2 separate regions of the Homo sapiens genome follow, and region 1 is linked to region 2. The links are contacts of gene promoters, found by promoter capture Hi-C in human tissues and cell types (Jung and others, 2019). All regions are on one chromosome and are shown on one strand. Each heading gives the region's core, a stretch centred on a gene start or on the middle of the fragment in contact. The rest is flanking DNA. Distances are from core to core; before and after follow the strand shown. Region 1 overlaps NIPSNAP1 (nipsnap homolog 1). Region 2 holds the start of ASCC2 (activating signal cointegrator 1 complex subunit 2).

Region 1 (4,536 bases), core at 49-2,548, 270 kb after region 2:
TCTTTGTTCACAAAGTGGATCCCCGGAAGGATGCCCACTCCACCCTGCTGTCCAAGAAGGAAACCAGCAACCTCTATAAGATCCAGTGTGAGTGGCTGCTGAGCTGACCAATTTCTGCCCTTTCAGGGGCTCTGGGGGCCTGTGAGGCTCCAGGAAGGAGATGGGAGGGTCTGGAATGTCCTCAGCTGTCCTGGGACCCCTGGCCTTGATGGGCTCCCCTCACCCCAAGTTCTTCCCTGTGTACACACCCTACCTCACTTCTTGTTCTCTGTCCTCTGTTGCAGTTCACAATGTAAAGCCTGAATACCTGGATGCCTACAACAGCCTCACGTGAGCACCCTGCATCCATACATCCCATCCCCTGCTTGGGTGGGGAACACACTTTCAGCAAATTTGCGGAACATCCTCCACCCTGTTCTTTTCTGTAGAAATCCAGGAGATGTAGATTTCTTTTATTTCTGCCTTTTTCTTTCTTTCTTTCTTTCTCTCTTTCTTTTTTTTTGAGATGGAGTTTTGCTCTCGTTGCCCAGGCTGGAGTGCAATGGCGCGATCTCGGCTCACTGCAACCTCTGCCTCCCAGGTACAAGCGATTCTCCTGTTCCAGCCTCCCAAGTAGCTCGGATTACAGGCATGCGCCGCTAAGCATGGCTAATTTTTTTGTATTTAGTAGAGACAGGGTTTCACCATGTTAGTCCGGCTGGTCGCAAACTCCTGACCTCAGGTGATCCACCTGCCTCGGCCTCCGAGTGCTGGGATTACAGGCATGTGCCACTGCGTTTGGCCCCATTTTCTTTCTTTCTTTTTTTTTTTTTTAAGAGATGGTCTCCAGGAGGCGGAGGTTCCAGTGAGCCGAGATTGCGCCATTGCACTCCAGCCTGGGCAACAAGAGCAAAACTCTGTCTCACACACAAAAAAGAGAGATGGGATCTCACTTTGCTTCCCAGGCTGGTCTCAAACTACTGGGCTCAAGCAATCCTCCTGCCTCAGCCTCCCAGTGTTGGGATTACAGGTGTGAGCCACTGTGCCCAGCCAGGATGTAAATTTCAGTGTCGGAAGTCCTGAGGGCCTCTTGCCTAGCTTCTGCATTTTAGAGATGGAGAGTCTGAGGCCCAGCCCCAGGGTCTGTTTGAACTGAGTTTGAACCCTTATCTCAGAGGCCCTGGTGGCTATGTGAACCCTGCCCCTCTCTGCACCTCCCCCACAGGGAGGCTGTGCTGCCCAAGCTTCACCTGGATGAGGACTACCCATGCTCACTCGTGGGCAACTGGAACACGTGGTATGGGGAGCAGGACCAGGCAGGTAAGGCGCTCACCTCCCTAGTGCCATTGCCACTGCCCAGCCCTGGCCTCCAGCACCTTTCACACCTGGCTGTTCTCCACTCCCTCTCCACAACAGCACCTGGTGGGGCTCTTACTAAAACCTCATCACCTCACTCCCCTGCTCAAATACCTGTCCTGGCTCCCCTGTGCCCTCAAGGTGACCCGTGAAGCCTGTGACTCCTTCCCGGCCCTGCCCCCAGCCTCATGGCACCAAATCCTCCATGCCTCGCTGTGCTGTCCCACCCAGGACTCAGTTCCTCAGATTGACAGTTTCACTCTTTAGTTCCAGACTACTGCTCATTCTCTTTCTTCTGCCTTAAGCATTATTTCTTGTTTGCCTGCTTTACCTGGATCACTGTCTTTTATTCTTTTTTTTTCCGAGACTGAGTTTCACTCTTGTTGCCCCAGGCTGGAGTGCAGTAGTGCAATCTCGGCTCACTGCAACCTCCGCCTCCCCAGTTTAAGCAATTCTCTTGTCTCAGCCTCCTGAGTAGCTGGGATTACAGGCATGTGCCACCACGCCCAGCTAATTTTGTATTTTTAGTAGAGACGGGATTTCACCATGTTGGTCAGGCTGGTCTTGAACTCCTGATCTCAGGTGATCCACCTGCCTCAGCCTCCCAAAGTGCTGGGATTACAGGTGTGAGCCACCGCACCCGGCCTTTTTTTTTTTTTTCTTTTTTCTTTTTTGAGACAGGGTCTCGCTCTGTCACCCAGGCTGGCAGATAGTGGCACAGTCTTGGCTGACTGCAACCTCCACCTCCTGAGTTGAAGATATTCTCCTGCCTCAGCTTCCCGAGTAGCTGGGATTACTGGCCTGTGCCACCAGGCCTGGCTAATTTTGTATCTTTAGTAGAGATGGGGTTTCACATGTTGGTCAGGCTGGTCTCGAACTTCTGACCTCAGGTGATCCACCTGCCTCGGCCTCCCAAAGTGCTGGGATTACAGGAGTGAGCCACCACTCCCGGCCTTTTTTTTTTTTTTTTTTTTTTTTGAGACAGGGTCTTGCTCTGTCACACAGGCTGGAGTGCAGTGGCATAATCTTGGCTCACTCGAGCCTCAATTTCCCAGGCTCAAGCAGTACTCCCACCTCAGCTTCCTGAGTAGCTGGGACTATAGGTGCGCTCCACCATGCTCGGCTAATTTTTGTGTTTTTTGGTAGAGACGGGGTTTCTCCATGTTGCCCAGGCTGGTCTTGAATTCCTGAACTCAAATGATCCTACCTCCTCGGCCTCCCAAAGTGCTAGGATTGTAGACATGAGCCACCGTGCCTGGCCTTTCAGTTTTATTCATTTTTAAATTTTCATTTATTTATTTATTTTTGAAACCAGGTCTTGTTACCCAGTGGGGAGTGCAGTGGTGTGATCACAGCTCACACAGCCTTAACCTCCTGAGCTTAAGCAATCCTCCTACCTCAGCCTCCTGAGTAGCTGGGACCACAGGTGCATGCCACAATGCCCAACTAATTTATTTTAAATTTTTTGTAGAGACGGGATCTCCCTATGTTACCCAGGGTGGTCTCAAACTCCCGGGCTCAAGCGATCCTTCCACTTTGGCCTCCCAAAGTGCTGGGAGTACAGGCATGAGCCACAGTGCCTGGACTATTCACTTTTCTATTTTGGCATAGATGTCACCTCCTCCTGGAAGGCTGCCGAGATTTCCTCCACGCGGGCTGGGTCAGGCACCTTCCTTAGCTCTCCAGGCCTCAGTAATTACCTCCTCACGCCCTGATCATGTACCCCTATAGCTGCCTGTTTAGTTGTCTGTCTCCATATATGGGTGAATCCCCAATATGCAGCACATATTTGTGGAATAAATAGGAGTTCTTCTTGTCTGAGCTGGTGTCTTACAGTCCCAGGGGCACCCCTAGCATGCCCCATCCCAGCCTAATAGACACATCAAAGTTGGCACCAGCTATAAGAACCCACACATGAATTTGGCTGACTCACAGCATCTCAGCCACTCAAAGGGACCTCAAATTCAGACCCACACTGTCCAAAATGATAGCCACTAACCACATGTAGTTATTTATTTATTTATTTTTTTGAGATGGAGCCTCGCTCTGTACTGTCACCCAGGCTGGGGTACAGTGGTGCAATCTTGGCTCACTGCAACCTCTGCCTCCTGGGTTCAAGTGATTCTCCTGCCTCAGCCTCCTGAGTAGCTGAGGTTACAGGCGTGTGCCACCACACTTGGCTAATTTTTGTATTTTTAGTAGAAACAGGGTTTCACCATGTTGGTCAGGCTGGTCTTGAACTCCTGACCTCATGATCCTCCCGCCTGAGCCTCCCAAAGTGTTGGGATTACAGGCATCAGCCACTGCGCCTGGCCTATTTATTTATTTTTTTGAGACAGCGTCTCACTCTGGTTTCCCAGGCTGGACTGCAGTGGTGCAATCACAGCTCACTGCACCCTTGACCTCCCGGGCTCAGATGATTCTCTCACCTCAGCCTCCCAAGTAGCTGGAACTACAGGTGTGCACCACCACAGCCAGCTAATTTTTTATATTTTTAGTAGAGACAGGGTTTCGCTATGTTGCCCAGGCTGGTCTTGAACTCCTGGACTCAAGCAATCCGTCAGCCTTGGCCTCCTGGACTACTGAGATTACAGGTGTGAGCCACTGCGCCCTGGCCTCACATGTAGCTATTGAAATTTATATTAGTTAAAATTACATAAAATTTAAAGTTCAAGCTGTGTGCCAAGGTGCTCACCTGTAGTCCTAGCTACTTGGGAGGCTGAGTTGGGAGGACTGCTTGAGCCCAGGAGTTCGAGGCCGTGATTGAATACCATCACACCTATGAATAGCCACTGCACTCCAGCCTGGGCAACACAGTGAGGACCCTGTCTCTAAAAAAGAAAAAATTCAGGACTGAATATGGTGGCTTATGCTTATAATCCCAGCAGATTAGGAGGCTGAGGTGGGAGGAACACTTGAGGCCAGGAGTTTGAAACCAGCCTGGGCAACATAGTGAGACTTTGCTTCTATAAAGAAAATACATATTAAAAAAAAAAGAAGAAAAGATTTTAAAAAGAAAAAATTCAGTTTCTTAGTCATACTAGCTACATTTCAAATGCTCACTCATATACACACAGGCTCATGCAGAAAGTACTTTTGGACAGTACTGGTTTAGAGTGTCTGCATAGCACAGCCATAACAGATGGTCCTCTAAACTTCCCTTGAACACTCCTAGCCATGAAGAGTTCACTTGTAAGCCAA
Region 2 (4,399 bases), core at 1,900-4,399:
TCACACCACTGCACTCCAGCCTGGGTGACAGAGGGAGACCCTATCTCAATAATAATAATAATAATAATAACAGCAACAAAGGGAAACATTCACTGTTCTGACGCAGCTTGTGGCCCTTGAGATCTCTTGGAGCTTGGGGCTAAACAGGGCTGAATTCAAATCCCCACTCCACCCACTTACCAGCTCTGTGACTCTGGTCTAGTCTTTAAACCTCTCTTTAAAATGGGGTCATAATAGCGTCTACCTCTTATCATTGTTACAAAAAGTCAAAGAGCACCTGGCTCAGTGGCTCACACCTGTAATCCCAGCACTTTGAGAGATCAAGACGGGCAGATCACCTGAGGTCAGGAGTTTGAGACCAGCCTGCCCAACATGGCAAAACCCCATCTCTACTAAAAATACAAAAATTAGCCCAGTGCATGCCTGTAGTCCCAGCTACTACGGAGGCTGAGGCAGGAGGATGGCTTGAACCTGGGAGGCGGAGGTTGCAGTGAACCAAGATCGTGCCACTGCACTCCAGCCTGGGTAACAGAGTGAGACTCCATCTCATTTAAAAAAAAAAAAAAGTCAAAGAGATAATATGTGTAAAATGCTTATTCCAGTGCCTGGGATGAAGCAAGGGTTTGACAAATGTGGTCATTATTATCACAACTGTCTTTATCTCTCTGCACCTCTACTTCCTCTGCTGCAGACCTGGGGTTGATATGCATCCTCCAAGTATCTGTGGCAGGCAGACTCTAGAATGGCCTCCATTGATTCACATCTTTTGGTATTCATGCCCTTGTGTAATCCCCTGTGGGCAAATCCTGTGACTTGCTACTAACAAATAGAACATGGCAAAACTGATGTCACTTTCTTGATTAGGTTACATGAGGTTGTAATTTCTCTCTTCTTAGTAGAATCTCCTATTGCCTCCTTTTGTTTGTTTGAGACAGGGTCTTGCTCTGTTGTGCAGGCTGGAGTGCAGTGGTGTGATCACAGCTAACTGCAGCCTCGAACTCCTGGGCTCAAGCAATTCTCCTGCCTCGACCTCCTAAGTAGCTGGGACTACAGGCATGCACCAGCATGCCTGGCTAATTTTAAATTTTTTTTTGTAGAGACGAAGTCTCGCTATGTTGCCTAAGATGGCCTCAGACTTCTGGGCTCAAGCAATCTTCCCACCTTAGCCCCCCGAAGTGTTGGGATTATAGGCATGAGCCACGGTGCCCGGCCCCTATTGCCTTCTTTTATTTATTTATTTATTTTTAATTTTTAGAGACTGGGTCTTGCTATGTTGCTCAGGCTCAATTTGAACTCCTAGGCGCAAACAATCCTCCTGCTTCAGCCTCCCAACCTGCTGGAACCATAAGCATGTGCCACCACTCTTGGCTTCCCTATTAACTTTTAGGCTTGCATGCTTTGATGAAGCAGGCTGCTACACTGGAGAAGCCTACGTGACAAGCCTTTAGCCAAAATCCAGCTAGGAACTGAGACCCTTAGTCCAACAACCATTAAGGAACTGAATTTAGCCACTAGACATGGGAAGCAGATCCTTTTTGAGTTGAGCCTTTAAATGAGACTCCAGCCCTGGCCGATATCTTGATTGCAGTCTTGTGGGTGACCCTGATGCAGAGGAGCCAGCTATGCCATCCTCAGATTCCTGGCCCACAGAAAATGTGAGATAATAAATATGTTTGTTGGCCAGGTGTGGTGGCTCACGCCTGTAACCCCAGCACTTTGGAAGGCTGAGGCAGGCGGATCACGACGTCAAGAGATCGAGACCATCCTGGCCAACATGGTGAAACTCCGTCTCTACTAAAAATACAAAAATTAGCTGGGCCTGGTGGCTCATGCCTGTAGTCCTGCCTACTTGGGAGGCTGAGGCAGGAGAATCGCTTGAACCCACTGTAACCTCCGGGAGGCAGAGGTTACAGTGAGCCAAGATCACACCACTGCACTCCAGCCTGGTGACAGAGTGAGACTCTGTCTCAAAATAAATAAATAAATAAATGTGTTTGTTATAAGTGGCAAGCAGTGTGTTGTTATAAGTTTGTGGTAATATGTTATGCAGCAATACAAAACTAATATAATATCCAGCCCCTCTCATCTCATTTCTGGTTTACAGCCCATCTCTCCTATTTCCTTAGCACCCTGCATTCATCACACTGACTCATTGCTATTGGTTTTCTTGCACTTCCTATCCTGTAAGCCCCTTGAAGACAGGCACTGAACTAAGCATTCCTTGTAGCCCTAGTGCAGATAGCAGGGGTTGGCAGGAGTGTCCTGGGAAATATTTCACAATCCCAGGGTGGGGTTGTGTTCTCCATTCGGGGGCTTCTATAACACCCCAATAATGATGGTGGTTGGTTTTGAATTCTTACTGTGTACCAGGCACTGAGATGAAGCCAGGAATGTGTGTTCTTAACAAGTTTTCTGTGATGATTCTGATCCATAGTCAGGCTTAGGAACCACTAAACCTACATTACCTGAGACATTCTGTAGAAAAAATTGCATCCTTCTCTTAGGATAGCTATACTTGTAACTTCCTTAAACAAAACAGAACAAAACTGTATTGCATACATACAGAAAAATGCACAAATCTTAAGCGTACAATTTGATGAATTTTCCAAAGTGAACACATCTACATGGCTACCACCGAGATGAAGACAGGGGGTGACCCCAGCCTCACTTGTGGCCCCTCCCAGCCCACAGCCCCAGAGGAAACCACCAATTTTAACACCATCACTACTCATGAGTTCTGTCTGTTCTAGAATTTCCCGTAAATGAAATCGCAGTCTGTACTTGTACATCTGCTTAACATTATGTTCGTGCTTTTGACTTGTTAAAATTTCTCTTCTGGATTAAATATGTAAAACGGTGACTAAGGAGGTCGGGCAGAAGGTGGAAGCCTGGGATTCCGAGACGTCCTCTCAGGTGCCATACTTGGATTTCCCGAGAGGTGTAATCACACAGCCCGCCCTCAGCTGACCTATTCTCTGCTTAAGCAGGAAGGGAGATAGGAGGGGAAGGGGGCGTGGCTACAGACGCCGAGTGTGGGGCGGAGTCTTAAGAAGAGAGGCGCAACCCGGGTCCGGCTTCCCGGCGGTAGTTTGCTCGGCTCTGGGGGCGGGGCCAGGCCGAGACTTCCTGTCTGCTCCTGCGGAATCGCAGTTTGACCCCGGAAGTGCGGGCGCTCAGGGAGCTGTCACCGTGGTCGGCGGCGGCGGCGGCGGCGGCGGCACAGAGCCGGTGGTGGAGCCGCCGAGGTGAGTGCGTGGCTGGTCCCTGCCAGATGCAGGGCAAGGGACCCCGGAGGAGCCGCGGCTATGCCTTGGGCAGCCTTGGCTCTCCCATCCTCTGGCCTCCATTGCGGGGCCCACGCTTACGCTACCTGAGGGGTTGTGAGCCGCCTCTCGAGACTTGGCCGCCAGGGTCAGGAGCCACGGGTTCGAAGTTCGGCCCCAGAGTGGCGTTGGACCAGCCACGATCCCCCCACGTCCTCACACCCGGGGCTTCAGTTTCCTCAGGGTTCATTCATTCGTTCAGCAAATATTTGTGGAGTGCTTCCTATGTGCCAGACACAGATCTAGACATTGGGGATACAAAGAAAGCAAGACAGACAAGGCTTCTGCCCTCATGGAGCTTACAGTCTAGTGGGAGGAGATGGTCAACGACAAGCAAATGCACAAGGTCATTAAAGCTATGACAGTAACTGGGAGAGTGGATACTATAGGCAGAGCCATCAGAAGGTCTCTGAGGAGAGTAGTATTTAATTGAGAGACTAGAGGAATGATGACAAAGAGGCTGAGGGAGCAGTAGCCCCGGGGATGCTCCCAGGCCATATTGCAATTGGGTGCTTGTAGGGAGCTCCCCCTCCCTTTCTTAGCTTTTGGCTTTTGCTGTCCTGCCTGGCAGGGGAATACAGTGGTGGGCACAGACATAGTCATGATTATTGTTTGTCCTTTTGGAGCTCAAAGTTCAGATTGTCCAGTTAATTTATTTTTTCCCCCCAAGACGGGGTCTTGCTCTGTCGCCCAGGCTGGAGTGCAGTGGCGTGATCTCGTCCCACTGCAACCTCCGCCTCCCGGGTTCAAGCGATTCTCCTGCCTCAGCCTCCTGAGTAGCTAGGATTACAGGCATGCACCACCACGCCCTGCTAATTTTTTTTTTTTTTTTCGGTAGAGACGGGGTTTCACCTTGCTAGCCAGGATGGTCTCGATCTCCTGGCCTCGTGATCCGCCCGCCTTGGCCTCCCAAAGCGCTGGGATTACAGGCGTGAGCCATCGCGCCCAGCCCTGCCTACTTAATTTGTACCCGTGCTTTAGACAAAAACTCAGGTCTTCCTTGACATCACTTCTTCCTCAAGCCAGGTCTCTCTTTTAAATGCTGCCACAGCTTCATGAGCCTTATCTACATAGCT

What was found. Contacts are between HindIII fragments. The study calls those that stand out against the background at their distance.
Region 1: a contact is called between a fragment that was not itself captured here and the fragment with the promoter of ASCC2 in region 2, in 1 of the 25 tissues and cell types used here (dorsolateral prefrontal cortex).

What each region holds. Positions count from the first base shown.
Region 1 is chr22:29,565,956-29,570,491 of GRCh38, reverse strand. NIPSNAP1 (nipsnap homolog 1) reads left to right here. Exons shown (of 10, transcript NM_003634.4): 2 at 1-87; 3 at 285-330; 4 at 1,205-1,299. Among named protein-coding and RNA genes, the nearest start is that of NIPSNAP1, 13 kb to the left of the region's middle. RefSeq lists an enhancer at 1,018-1,312. The HindIII fragment of the contact is 3,498 bases long and covers 1-3,047 here.
Region 2 is chr22:29,837,024-29,841,422 of GRCh38, reverse strand. ASCC2 (activating signal cointegrator 1 complex subunit 2) reads left to right here and starts at 3,149. Exons shown (of 20, transcript NM_032204.5): 1 at 3,149-3,245. RefSeq lists an enhancer at 2,817-2,876. The HindIII fragment of the contact is 14,310 bases long and covers 1-4,399 here.